Regions from separate parts of the Homo sapiens genome. Here region 2 is linked to region 1. The links are contacts of gene promoters, found by promoter capture Hi-C in blood cells and fetal thymus (Javierre and others, 2016). All regions are on one chromosome and are shown on one strand. Each heading gives the region's core, a stretch centred on a gene start or on the middle of the fragment in contact. The rest is flanking DNA. Distances are from core to core; before and after follow the strand shown. Region 1 holds the start of ENTPD3 (ectonucleoside triphosphate diphosphohydrolase 3). Region 2 overlaps ULK4 (unc-51 like kinase 4).

Region 1 (6,799 bases), core at 1,286-3,785:
TCAGAACAGCTAACTCTTTCCATCTCAACTGATTCCCCTGCAGTGTAGCTGCAGTCACAGACACTTCTTGGTGTCAAAGTTGGTCACTTAACACCTTAATCCTCCTACCTTGTCATTGAAAGTGTAAACTGGTACAGCATCAATGGAGGGCAACTTGTCAATATTTATGAAAACTGCAAATAAGCATGCCATCTGACTCACAATCACTCTTTTGGGAAGTTATCCCACAGAACTAGCTCCACATGTGTAAAATGACTTAGACACAAGGTTACTCATTACAGAATTGTGGGTAATAGCAATGGAAAGGAGAGCCAACTGCCATGGAGTTGACCTGCAGAGCATGTAAAGAGGTCCTGTATCACTTTTCTGTGATTCCAAATAAAAGTACAGGAACCAGTTAATCCACAGAGGCAAACTTTTGCATTAGCTTTCAAAGAATGCATTTGTCAGTGTTAGTTATAGAAGTTTAAGGGATTTTTTCCCTCTAACAAAATGGGGTAGAAATTTAATCTGCCAAGTTAAACTTGTCCTTTGGAAGGAATGTAACAGGTTAGTCTGTATGAGTGACGTTACAATCTGTGTTAACATTTCAAAGTGTTTTGGGGGAAAACCTAAAGATCAAAGGAAAACAGCTCCTCAAGTGCAATGTCCCTTTACAAAAATAAAAGTTCATATAGATTGCCCTTACTATCCTAAAATCATATCCTTTTGGAAGACAAGAATACCCAATTTAGGGGCATGACTAAAGAATGTCTATCCATGGGGGAGGAGTGTGTGATATGTATGCAGTTTCCTGACCACAGCTACGTGGCTGGCCTCCTAAGTCTTCTGTGTTTCAGCAGTTTTCAAGTAAAAAGCTATGATTACCTTAAGCAAACTCTTGTCCTTGCAGAAAAGCTTATTACAAAGCAAAATGGATGAGACCAGGTCTTACTCATTTAGGAAATGCAGCCTAGAGCTGTGCTGTCATTAGGGCTGGACAAACATGGTAATTGCAAGGTACCTACCTGAGCTTGGAGAAGCCAGAGCCTTCTGGGCTTCCACATGAGCAACTCCAAAAAGTGCTCTAGAGGCAGGCGGGGCAAGCTTAGAAGTGTGTGTGTGTGTGTGTGTGTGTGTGTGTGTGTGTGTGTCTGTGTGTGTGTGCCTTCCAGTGTGAGAAAATCCTGCACTTGTGCCTGCAGTATCAACCATAACAACACTGACTCACAGTGAGGGGTGGGGGTGTTGTAGGCACTGTGCCAGCAACATTTGGATGGGAATACAGGAAAGATCCAAGTACTGTACAATTGATCACAAAATCAACAATACAGTATTCTAAAGCAAACGTTACACACAGCTAGCTAAGGGAAACCACAAGGGCCAAATTAATGGATTATACAAACCGGAAAAACCATTTAAGTGAAACATGCATGTTAGTCCTTGTTTTGTGTGGCTTTGATGAAAAGCATTACTTTTATTTGAGGAATGCCGGTGTTGAAACCCAGCTGAGTACTGAGTCTCAAACCAATAAAGTTAAACAATCATTTGCAGGGGATATGGATGAAAAACTGTAGGCCGAAGCTGGGGTTCTCTTGCGATTTGGCAAAACCACGCTTGCTACCTGCTGAGAGATACTAACCTGCTTGCTCACATGGTTGGCGGGTCAGCACAGTGAACATCTTTTCTCCTAGCTGCAGGTGAGAGAATACAGGATGTCAGTAAGTCCACCGCCCCGGCCTCACAAGTTTAAAGAACGAGCCCAGGTTAAGACAAAACCCATTTTACTTCCTCCAAATCAAAACCTCATCCCGGGAAAGGTAAGCCGAACCCCAGAACTTCAGAGACAGCCCCAAAGCTGGAGCTTAAATTTCATGTCATCTCCCCAAATGAAAGGAAATGAAAAATGGATTTGCTGAAACTTCAAACTGAAAAGGTTTTCCGAAAAAAGGTCTTTTTCTGCAGATTGTTCCACCTGTACACACACCCAAGAGAGAACAAATCTTCCCCCTATTATTAACATTCACAAAGCTGAGGCGGGGCTTTTTTTCAGAACATGAGCAAGGAAGGTTTTTGTGTGTTCATGGATCGCGAGCCTGGAGCCTCTCTAAAGCCCCGGGAAGGGAGTCTTTAGCTGCTGGCTGGAAATTGCAAAGGGATGTCGGGGCCCTGGGATCCAGCCCCCACCAGGATCTGGGGTCACCTCTCTGGACTGCGTCTCTGCATAGCCGCAGGCATCTAAGCGCCCAGCACATCTGCGGATCCATGCAGGCTGTCGGTAAAGACGCGCCCACCCGTCGTGGGCATGACAGGGACCACCTCCCAGCCGCCCAAGGATTTGGGGCTACCGTGTTTCAGTCTCTTCCTCTGGCCCTCTGAGGAAATCCGATTTTGTTTCTTTGCCTCCCAACTCTCAGTCTCACGCAGCACCCCCGACTCCTTCCTCGGCAGCTCAGGCGCCGGGTCCCCTGATCTTACCTGTGCGGAGCCGATTCGGAGAAGGCGACTAGCGCTGCCGCAGAGGCGGCCCGCGGCCAGCGCTAAGGAGGTGTCAGCTCAGACGCCGGGAGGCGGCGCCGGGTATAGCGGGGCGGGGGCGGGGCGGCCTCGGCCTGGGACCGCCCCCCCCGTCCGTGTCAAGGCCAAGTACCTCTTCACCTTCTTTTCTGATTGCTCTCACCTTCACACCCAGCCCTCGATGGAAGGGGAAGGGAGAGAGAGCGCGCCTCTTGCCAAAAGACCGGCCCTGCCTGCCCAGAGAGCCTTCTGTCCCCCTCCAGGTCGAAGCCAAACAGCACTTCACCTTTCCTCTTTCAGTTCCCTCCACACTCACCTGTACCTGAAGTCGGAGAGGAGGGAGCCAGGCCTTGCCCTGAGAACCCACCGGAGCCTATGTGGGCGAGGGGGAAGGGAGGTGTCTATTATCTGCCTCCTTCTTGCATCTGTGTCAAGACCAAGAACCTTTTGATCTGTCTTCTAGTTACCTCCATTGTCACCCCAACCCTAGGTGGAGGGAAAATGGGGACAAGGCCAGGCAGGGACTGGGCACTCTGTGGGTGTGCATGACCTTATGTGGTCCCCCGGTGGGTGGCTCCTGTGCTCCGTCTCTCCACGGGGTGGAGTAGAGTCAAACACCTGTAATGTTGGGAGTGAGGCCAGTAGGCAGGCTGGCCCCTAGGTCACTTGGGCCTAAAGCACAAAGTATGGCAGGCACATTCCCTTTCACACTTAGCAGAACTGCCTTGGCCATGCCCAGGGCCATTCTTGCTGTTTACTGAGCAATGCTCTGCCCTACCCCATTTAATATGGATGTCATAAGGCCAAAAACTCAAGACAAGTACAGCCCGGAAGAGGCAAAACAGAAAAGATAACAAAAAGGCAGCATGTGGGCTGCCGTGATCCAAACACCCCAGGAGTCTGTCTCAGTGTACAGCAGCAGGCAGCCTCCCGGCTCCTCTGAGTGACCCCAGAGACCCTTGGAGTGATCCCAGCAAGAGGCCTAAGCAGGCCCTGTTTGACCATCCCTCCTTATGGTTCCTGCATGTCTGGAAGGAAGAGCTGAGTCCCTGGCTATACCCTGCCATAGCCTGCTTTCTCCTAGAAATCCACTAATTTTCTGTCCTGTGCAGGTGGGGCCAAAGCCCCTAAGACAAGAAGTCCTTAAGATAGGAATGCCCCTGCTTTGATACCTCTGAGCCCAGAGAGGTGGGCCCCAAGCCTGAGTTATGTGTGTGTGCCTGTGTGTGTGTGTGTGTGTGTGTGTGTGTGTGTGTGTGTGTGCCCGCGCGCAAGAGCACCATGGTCATTCACCCAGAGTTGGATAGAGGTGGACCCCATTGGGGGATTGGGACAGGGTCTGCACTGGGGGTGTCAGACATTCAGTGAATACTTGCTGAATTAAAAGACTTGTTTTCTTTGAAAGCTGTGGGACAATGAAACATAAGGCATATGGCTGGCAGCTGGGGGTCCGTCTGCACCCAGGGGGCTGTAAGTACACAAACAGCTGCTGGCAGTGCACCCGGACCTGAGCTCAGTTAGATAGCCCCAGTGGGTGAATGACTAACCTTAGCATCCCCAGTGACTTCCCAGGGGCTGGGAAAAGGTTTCCAGGCCTAATGGGCCTTGAAAGGCAGTTAGTGCTAGTGTATAAAAATAACAGAGATCAGTCCATGCCAGCTTTCCTCTCTGCTTGCATCAACCTACAGACCTTGTAAGTGTGAGCATCAGCCTCCTTTGAGAGCCCTGTAGTCTCCAATTCTCCTTTTATTTTTCCAAGCTTTTCTGGAAACTCTGCTCCAGGCACTGTGTCAAACTCCTTTGCAGCTTCCAAAGTAGACCTAGTCATTCAAAGGCATTTCCTCATCCACCTTCCACATGCAAGAACACACACACACACAGACACACACACACACTCCTTTGTGAGTTTTCCTGATTATAAAATAATACAGATTTGCCCACCAGCTATCAAAACATATTGTAAAGCCACAGTAATAAAAACAGCCTGGCTTGGGCACAGGAATATACTGAGAGATCTAAAGAACAAAAAAGATAGGCCACAACAGACTATTGGATATAGGATTATAAGATAAAGAACAGGTTGAAATAACATATTATTCAATAACTGGTATTGAAACAACTGGCTCATTTGGAAAAGGATTCTAATTACTCATCACCCACAAAAATAGATTTTAGGTGGTTTAAAAATTTAAATGTATAAAATAATTTGACATACTAAAAAATGTAGAAGAACATTTTTATCATCCTTGGGAAAGAACAGTCTCTTCTACTATGCAGTCAAAGCAGGAAGAGAAATAAAGTCAACAAATTTGAATCCATGAAAATGAAAAATGACTGAATAGAAAGACACCACCCACTGCAACCCCCCCCCACCAAAAAAAAGATAAATTCTCAGGAAATACCTAAGAATGTGACAGTAAAGAGTTTAAAACCGTAAGATATACTAAAGTCTATAGAAAAATATGAATATCTGAAATAGAAAATGGGCAAGTCACATGCATTGGCCAATTTACAAAAGAAATATGAATGGCTGACTAACATGGCAGAGATGCTTAATCTCATTATTTACCAAAAATTGTCAACTAAAACTTTGGTATATTTAAACAAGATTAAAAAAAAACTGATTAGACTTGATTAGCTTAGCAAAGTTTAAAAAGATCTAGGCCAGGCACAGGGGCTCACGCATGTAATCCTAGCACTCTGGGAGGCCGAGGTCAGCTGATCACCTGAGGTCATGAGTTCAAGGCCAGCCTGGCCAAAATGGTGAAACCCCGTCTCTACCAAAAAATACAAAAATTAGCCAGGTGTGGTGGTGCATGCCTGTCCCAGCTACTCAGGAGGCTGAGGCACGAGAATTACTTGAATCTGGGAGGTGGAGGCTGCAGTGAGCTGAGATGCTGAGATCATGCCACTGCACTCTAGCCTGGACTATAGAGCAAGACCCTGTCTCAAAAAAAAATAGCAATAATAATCAGTGGTGCTTGTGTTGGAGAAGGTGCCAGGAAACAGGCCCTCTTGAAGCATCTGATGCGTGCCATGTCCTCCCACTTCTCTAGACAATTTTGCTGGTTCCTGCTCCTTTCCTGGGAGTTTCTCAAGACTCAGTCTCCAGGATTATTTTCTTCTCATTCTGTATTCTTTTCCTAGGTAATCTCATCCATGCCTACGTCTTCTGTTTTATTCACAGAAGCTCTCAAATACAGGGTTCAGGCTTCCCCTCTTGATCTGTAGACCTAGAGAATTGTGTTTTTCATCTTTCAAGTGTCATATAGGCACCTCACATTTACAGGGTTTCAAGCAGAGCTCCTTATCTTCCCCTACCAAACCATCAACTCCTCAAGCATTTCTCATCTCGGCACTCCCCACTCATCCAGGTGAGCAAGCCAGAAACCTGAGGGTTGCCTTTGATAGTCTTTCCCCCATTATACACGATCAATCAGTCACTAATTACTGCTGATTTTAGCCTCTTAATCGTCTCTGCAATATGTACTTCCTTCTCTCTCAGCCACCATCTTGGTCTGAGCCAGGATTTCTCAGTTGGAGCACTATTGATATTTCAGGTCAGATGATTGTTGAGGGAACTGCCCTGTATATTGTAGGATGTTTAGTAGCATCCTTGACCTTTCCCTACTAGTTGCCAGTAACATCCTCCCACACATGGTGTGACAACCAAGAATGTCTCAAGACATTGCCAAGTGTCCTCAGAGGAGTAAAATTTCCCTGGTGAGAACCACTGGTCTAAGCTACCATGCACACTTTTCTGGATCTTGGCAACGGTCTCACACATCTCTCTGTGTCCATTTTCTTCCTCTCTGATCCATTTTCCCAAGCCAACAGGCCCCATCTCTTCAAAACCCAGATCTCTCTGTGTCAAAACTCTCTGTAAAACACTCTTCTATGCTGTCCATTTCTTAGTGGATTCACAATCAGATTCTCAATGTGACCTGGAAGGCCCTGCAAGGTATATTCTCTATCTCTCTTTCCAGTCTCTATTAACCCATACTACTTCTTACTTCATGCTCTGAAGACAAACCAGCCTTCTTTCAGTTTTTCAAATATATCATGTTTACTCCTGCCATAGGACCTTTGTACATTATTTTACTAATTAGCACTTGTTTATACTTTTTTTCTCACTTCAGTCATTTCACTGATACTTCCCCGGCATCCCCTAATCTGGATCATACATCCAAACTGGGTCAAGTCCCTAAATTATGTGCTTTTAAAGCAGGCATTCCTTTCTTTCAGCTAGAGTTTCATTACAGTCGTTGTTGAGCAAATGACCCCTGTTGCTTATCACCAAAGC
Region 2 (6,799 bases), core at 2,424-4,923, 1.5 Mb before region 1:
TCTTAAACAGAAGCTCTTTACCCATTAAACAGTAACTTCCCCTTTCCTTCCCCAGTCCTGGTAACCTATACTCTACTTATTCTATCTTTGTGAATTTGCTTATGGTGAGTACCTCATATTGCTACTGAAATATCAAGGGGTTTGGTTTAAGTCCTGTTGCTCACAGCACAGAAAGCCAATCACGGAGACAATGAGTGTTGCTAGGGAAGAAGGCTTCAATTGGGTGCTGCAGCTAAGGAGATGGGAGATCAGTCTCAAATTTGTCTCCTCAACTGACTAAAACCAGGGATGTATTTAGCAGGGAAGAAATATAACCATGTATGGGAAAACAGGAATCAAGGAAGGGTGAGGAAGAGGAATTGGTCAACAGGAAGCAGGTAGTTGGTTAGGCAATTGTAATGGGTGAGGGGGTCTGGTGTCTTATGGTCCAGATATGGTGATTTGGTAAGTTTCAGTTCCTTGATAACTATCTGGGAGGCCTGATGGTTGGTTTCCCAAGAAAGGAACTCAGATAAGACAAATGTAACTTCCTCAAGTTTTAAGACTGGGAGGGTCAATTTCTACGTTTATTTTAAAAGACTGTAAACATCAGTTCTATAGGACAATTGGGCTGGTTTCATTTGCAAGGTTCATCCATGTTATAACTAACATGTGTCAGCATTTCATTCCTTTTTAAGGCTGAATAATATTCCGTTGTATGCATATACTACATTTTGTTTATCTTTTCATCTGTTGTTGGGCACTGGCTTGTTTATATCTTTTGGCTATTGTGAACAATGCTGCTGTGAACATTAGTGTTTTCTGTTTTTGTTTTTTGCTAACAGCTATCCTGATGGGTGTGAAGTAGTATCTTACAGTTTTGATTTGTATTTTGTGACTAGTGATGTTGAACATCTTTTCGTGTGATTGTTGGCTATTTGTATATCTTCTTTGGAGAAAGATCTAGTCAAGTCATTTGCCAATTTTTGAACTGAGTTTTATGTTGTTGAGTTGTAGGTATTTTTTATATATTCTAGATATTAACCCCTTGTCAGATAAATGATTGCAAATATCTTCTCTCATTACATAGGTTGCTTTTTACTGTGGCAAGTGCCTTTTTGAGATATGAATTTAGGAGGAATTTTTCTATTTTTCAAATAAGAGTTTTATACTTGAATAAGGTAAAGTAAATGCTCATCCATCATAAATTTTTTAATTAAAAACATAGTTTTCCTGTTTCTTTGCTGTAGTTCTTCTCTTGGTTGATTAGATTTTATCATTTGGTAGGTTTTTTTTTGTTTGTTTGAGACGGAGTCTCGCTCAGTCACTCAGGCTGGAGTGCAGTGGCACAATCTCAGCTCACTGCAACCTCTGCCTCCCGGGTTCAAGTGATTCTTCTGCTTCAGCCTCCCGAGTAGCTGGGATTATAGGCACCTGCCATCATGCCCGGCTAATTTTTGTATTTTTGTAGAGATGAGGTTTTACCGTGTTGGCCAGATGGTCTCCAACTCCTGATCTCAGGTGATCCACCTGCTCTGGCCTCCCAAAGTGCTGGGATTATAGGCATGAGCCACCGCGCCTGGCTGTTAGTATTTTTTGTTTGTTTTCAAGAAGGCCTCTCAGTGGCTTACCTCTGTGCCATGCTTTGGAGTTTGAGCTCTCTTCCTTGTACTAACTGTAGTTCTGTAGGACTTGTGGGTAAACCTTACCTTTTTTTTTTTTTTCCCTCTTCTGTGTGACTTGTTTGAGTTAGCTTTTCTTTTCATTTCAGGCCTGTAAATTTTACTAGATTGTCTCTAGGAATCTCTTTTTACTAATTTGCTCCTTCCTGCCTGCCTGCCTGCCTCCCTCCCTCCCTCCCTCCCTCCAGTCCCGTCTTGTCCCGTCCCTTCCTTCCCCGCTCCCGTCCCTTCCTTCCCCGCTCCCGTCCCTTCCTTCCCCGCTCCCGTCCCTTCCTTCCCCGCTCCCGTCCCTTCCTTCCCCCTCCCGTCCCTTCTTTCCCCGCTCCCATCCCTTCTTTCCCCCTCCTGTCCCTTCCTTCCCCCTCCCGTCCCTTCCTTCCCCGCTCCCGTCCCTTCCTTCCCCGCTCCCGTCCCTTCCTTCCCCCCTCCCGTCCCTTCTTTCCCCCTCCCGTCCCTTCCTTCCCCCCTCCCGTCCCTTCTTTCCCCCTCCCGTCCCTTCTTTCCCCCTCCCGTCCCTTCTTTCCCCCTCCCGTCCCTTCTTTCCCCCTCCCGTCCCTTCTTTCCCCCTCCCGTCCCTTCTTTCCCCGCTCCCGTCCCTTCTTTCCCCCTCCCGTCCCTTCTTTCCCCCTCCCGTCCCTTCCTTCCCCCTTCTGTCCCTTTCTTCCCCGCATCCCTTCCTTCCCCCCTTCCGTCCCTTCCTTCCCCCCTCCCATCCCTTCCTTCCCCCATCCCGTCCCTCCTGTCCCTCCTGTCCCTCCCGTCCCTCCCGTCCCTCCCGTCCCTCCTGTCCCTTCCTTCCCTCCCGTCCCTCCTGTCCCTTCCTTCCCTTCTTTTCTTTCTGTTTATTTTGAGACAGAGTCTTGCTCTGTCGCCCAGGCTGGAGTGCAGTGGCGCGATCTTGGCTCACTGCAACCTCCACCTCCCGGGTTCAAGGATTCTCCTGCCTCAGCCTCCCGAGTAGCTGGGATTACAGGTGTGCACCACCATGCCCAGCTAATTTTTGTATTTTTAGTAGAGATGGGTTTTCACCATGTTGGCCAGGCTGGTCTCAAACTCCTGACCTCAAGTGATCCACCTGCCTTGGCCTCCCAAAGTGCCGGGATTACAGGTGTGAGCCACGATGCCTAGCCTCTTCATCCCTCCTTTAGCTTTTATATTATTTCTTAGATTTCTTCCTATTTCATCCTTTTTCTGTTCCTGAAACCCCTACAGGATGGGTGTGGGAGTTTGTCTCTCTTGACTTTTCTTTTAAATTTTCTTTTGCTTTCTCACTTTCTCTTGTTTATTGAGGTATAATTCACATACCATAAAATTCACCATTTTAATGTGTACAGTTCAGTAGGTGTTAGTATATTGAAAGTTGTTCAACCATTGCCATTATCTAATTTCAGAACATTTTTCTCACCCAGCGAAACCCAGTACCCATTCTTCTCCAACCCCTGGCAACCACTCATCTACTTCCTGTTGGCTGATTTGCCTATTTTTGATATTTCATATAAATGGAATCATACAGTATGTGGCCTTTTGTGTCTAGCTTCTGTCATTTAGCATAATGTTTTCAAGGTTCATCTGTATTGTGGAATGTGTGAATACTTCATTCTTTTTATAGCTGAATAATCCTTGTGTGGCTATACCACATTTTGCTTATGTGGTCTTGATGGACATTTGGGGTTGTTTCCACATTTGGCTATTATGAATAATGGTGCGCTGAACATTTGTCTACAAGGTTTTGTGTGAACATACGTTTTTATTTCTCTTACAGTAGTGAGATTGCTGGATAAAATGATAACTCTGTGTTCAACCTTTTGAAGAACTGCCAAACTCTCTTTCTTATACTTTTGTTTTAGGTTCAGGGGTACATAATACAGATTTGTTATATAGGTAAACTCATGGGGGTTTCTTGTACAGATTATTTGGTCACCCAGGTACTAAGCTTAGTAAGTACCAATTGTTATTGTTTCTGATCCTCTCCCTCCTCCCACCCTCCACCCTGAAATAGGCCCCGGTGTCTGTTGTTCCCTCTTTGTGTCCATGCAAATTCTCTTCTTTTATTGCTCTTCCTTGACTTTATCTTTGAGCTCTCAAGCTTGGTATTTATCCCCACTCATTTTATTATTTAGGATTTCCAGTTAATTTTTTAATTTCAACAATCATATTTGAAAGGTTTTGTTCATTTTCTTTTTGTCTGATTGGTCCCTTTTCCTAGCTGCATATATTTGGTGTATCATATACTTCTGAATTTGAGATAAATATTAGGATTATAAAAATTCTCTTCTTGGGGCAGAATTTAGAATTAAATATTGTTATTAATATTAAAGGTTAAACATTAGGATTATATAATATAAGCCTGGAACCTGGACTTTGAAAAAAAGGGAACAAAATTAGGATTATAAACATTGTATTCTTACCTCTTGAACTTGTAGGTCACTTTTTCATCATGGTCCTGCTTTTTAATGCTGTTTATTTCTCAAATGCCTGGTGATCTCTGGTTCTTAGTTTATATTATGAATAAATGATTAAATTGATTGGTATAGAAGTTGGCAATGTGAGTTTCCTTTATGCTTGCCTAAGTCTCTTTCTCCAATAGCCTCTCCTTTAAATAAAGGGTTGGTATGTGGGTAGGTGGGGCCTGCTGACTGGTTGACTTTAATTTGGAATTCCAGCTGGCTGAAGATCAGGTAGGCAGGCTGGAGGCCTCTGCAATTGCCAGGGTGGGTTTTTCTTTGGAGTGGAGTTGGCTTTCCTCATTTACCCCTTCCCTGTTTCAGTATCTGGAGGACCACAGTCTCTGCTTCCCACATCCACACCTATGTCCCACCCCAAGGTGGATTGCTCACTGTAGGAACAATTTTCCACGTTTACCCCGGAGGCCAGGGCTGCAGGGTTTATTCTGTGTACCAAGGAAGGGTGATGGAAAAGAGGCAGGACCTGACTGACTAAACTGTTCCTTGTACAAGGACACAATTGTTCCTTGTGCAGTTGTAATCTGATGATTGTCCTGTGGCTCATTCTTGCTTTCTGTCTTAGTTTGTTCCAAGTCCTTGAGGCTTCCTTGGGAACGTCTGTCTACCTGTGATTCTTAGATAGAGGATTCCCTTGTTGGTTCTCTGTCAGTCTTAATTCTATCTATGCATGTCATCTGAGATTTTCTCAAACTTTCTAGTCCACTTTTAGCCTTCCTTTTTGTTTCTAGTTATCAGTTATCATTTAATAAAAAGAACTTGTATTTTAGAGACTCTAGAGGGATCAGAAAAGTGAGTGTCAAGTGTTTAGTCTGCAATCATTAAAGACAGAGAATGTCTCATAAGTTTAGATCTGTGTTACATGATTATGATTTATGGATGCTTTCTTTACCTTTCCCTTTTATTCTTTCTTTTGTTTCTTTTCCTTATTTATTTATTTTATTATTATTTTTAGAGACTCACTCTAAAAAAAATAGGGTCTCACTGTGTCCCCGAGGCTGGAATGGGACTACAGGTGCATGTTACCATGCCTGGCTAAATTAAAAACATTTTTTTTTTTCTTTTTGTGGAGACAGGGTCTCACTTTATTAGCCAGGCTGGTCTTGAACTCCTGGCCTTAGTGATCCTTCCATCTCATCCTCCTAAAGTGCTGGGGATTACAGATGTGAGTCACTTTACCTGGCCAAAGTTTTCATTTTTTAATATGATGTATAAGGTATATAGAAGTGCTTTTTTTTTTTTGAGACGGAGTCTTACTCTGTCACCCAGGCGGGAGTGCAGTAGTGGCATGATCTTGGCTCACTGCAACCTCCACCTCCTGGGTTCAAGCGATTCTCCTACCTCAGCCTCCCGAGTAGCTGGGATTGCAGGCGCCCACCACCACGCCCAGCTAATTTTTGTATATTTTAGTAGAGATGGGGTTTCACCATGTTGGCCAGGCTGGCCTTGAACTTCTGACCTCAAGTGATTCACCTGCCTCGGCCTCCCAAATGCTGGGATTACAGGCATGAGCCACCATGCCCAGCAGAAGTGCTTCTAATTTCACAAGTGTTTAGGCTTTTTGGTTTATATTTGTTATTTTTACTTTTCTCCTTTCACTACATCAAAATGAGTCCTGTATAATTTCTGCCTTAGGGAATTCTAATAATTCCAATATCTTTGTGGTCCAATATAAAGTCATTTTTAATGTATGCCATGAATGCAGTTAACTGTTAATATAGTAATAGTGGCTTGCTCATTCAGCACAAATTGTCATGACACAATGGTAATTTCTGCATGTGGATTATCTCCTGATTCTTAGAACAACATGAGGTACATATTATTATTGGTCCTACTTGTTGTGCCTACCAGGCATAAGAAAGATGAGTGATTATCCCAGGGTACTGTCTCCCTCGCCCCCAGTGGTGGGGCCAGGGCCAGGTCCAAGACTTTGAATTCAGAGTCTTAGACACCATCCTATACAGACTCCCACTGAGTAAGAGTGGTCACTGTTTGTAGGGTGTAGAGTTCGATAGATTCATCTGTTACTTTGACTTTGTAGTTTTATTTAGGATGCTTGAATGTGTGAATGTATTGATGAATGTATTCATTGTTGCCTTCTCTCTGTGCTTGGAAGAGAAGAAAATTGAAGTTTACCACTACTATGGGTTTACTTTTCATGCTTTGTTATTTGGTGTATAAAGATTCACACCAGGCTGGGCGCGGTGGCTCACACTTGTATCTCAGCACTTTGGGAGGCCGAGGTGGGTGGATCACGAGTTCAGGAGTTCGAGACCAGCCTGGCCAACATGGTGAAACCCTGTCTCTACTAAAAATACAAAAATGAGCTGGGCATGGTGGTGCGTGCCTGTAATCCCAGCTACTGGGGAGGCTGAGGCAGGAGAATGGCTTGAACCCAGGAGGCGGAGGGTGCAGTGAGCTGAGATTGTGCCACTCACTACACTCCAGCCTGGGTGACAGAGCAAGACTCCATCTCAAAAAAAAAAAAAAATTCACATTTTATATCTTCTGTACGTCATATGGTTTTTAGTTTAAAGGGAATCTTTTTCTCATGAGTTTAGCCTAATTCTACTGAGATTTACATTGGAAATCCTGTTTGCCTTTTGTTTGCCTTGTACAGCCTTACTTTTATGCACTTTTTTTCTACTAGTGTGTTCAGTTATTTTGCTTTTGATG

Evidence for each region. Contacts are between HindIII fragments. The CHiCAGO score rates a contact against its expected background, and 5 or more counts as called.
Region 2: a fragment that was not itself captured here is called in contact with the fragment with the promoter of ENTPD3 in region 1 in 2 of 17 cell types (naive CD4 T cells and total CD8 T cells); the score reaches 5.8 in naive CD4 T cells.

The regions. Positions count from the first base shown.
Region 1 is chr3:40,382,920-40,389,718 of GRCh38, reverse strand. ENTPD3 (ectonucleoside triphosphate diphosphohydrolase 3) reads right to left here and starts at 2,535. Exons shown (of 11, transcript NM_001248.4): 1 at 2,458-2,535; 2 at 1,622-1,673. The coding sequence starts at 1,661. RefSeq lists a silencer at 2,515-2,614. The HindIII fragment of the contact is 3,169 bases long and covers 1,089-4,257 here.
Region 2 is chr3:41,886,390-41,893,188 of GRCh38, reverse strand. All of the region lies in intron 16 of ULK4 (unc-51 like kinase 4), which reads left to right. Among named protein-coding and RNA genes, the nearest start is that of ULK4, 72 kb to the left of the region's middle. The HindIII fragment of the contact is 153 bases long and covers 3,597-3,749 here.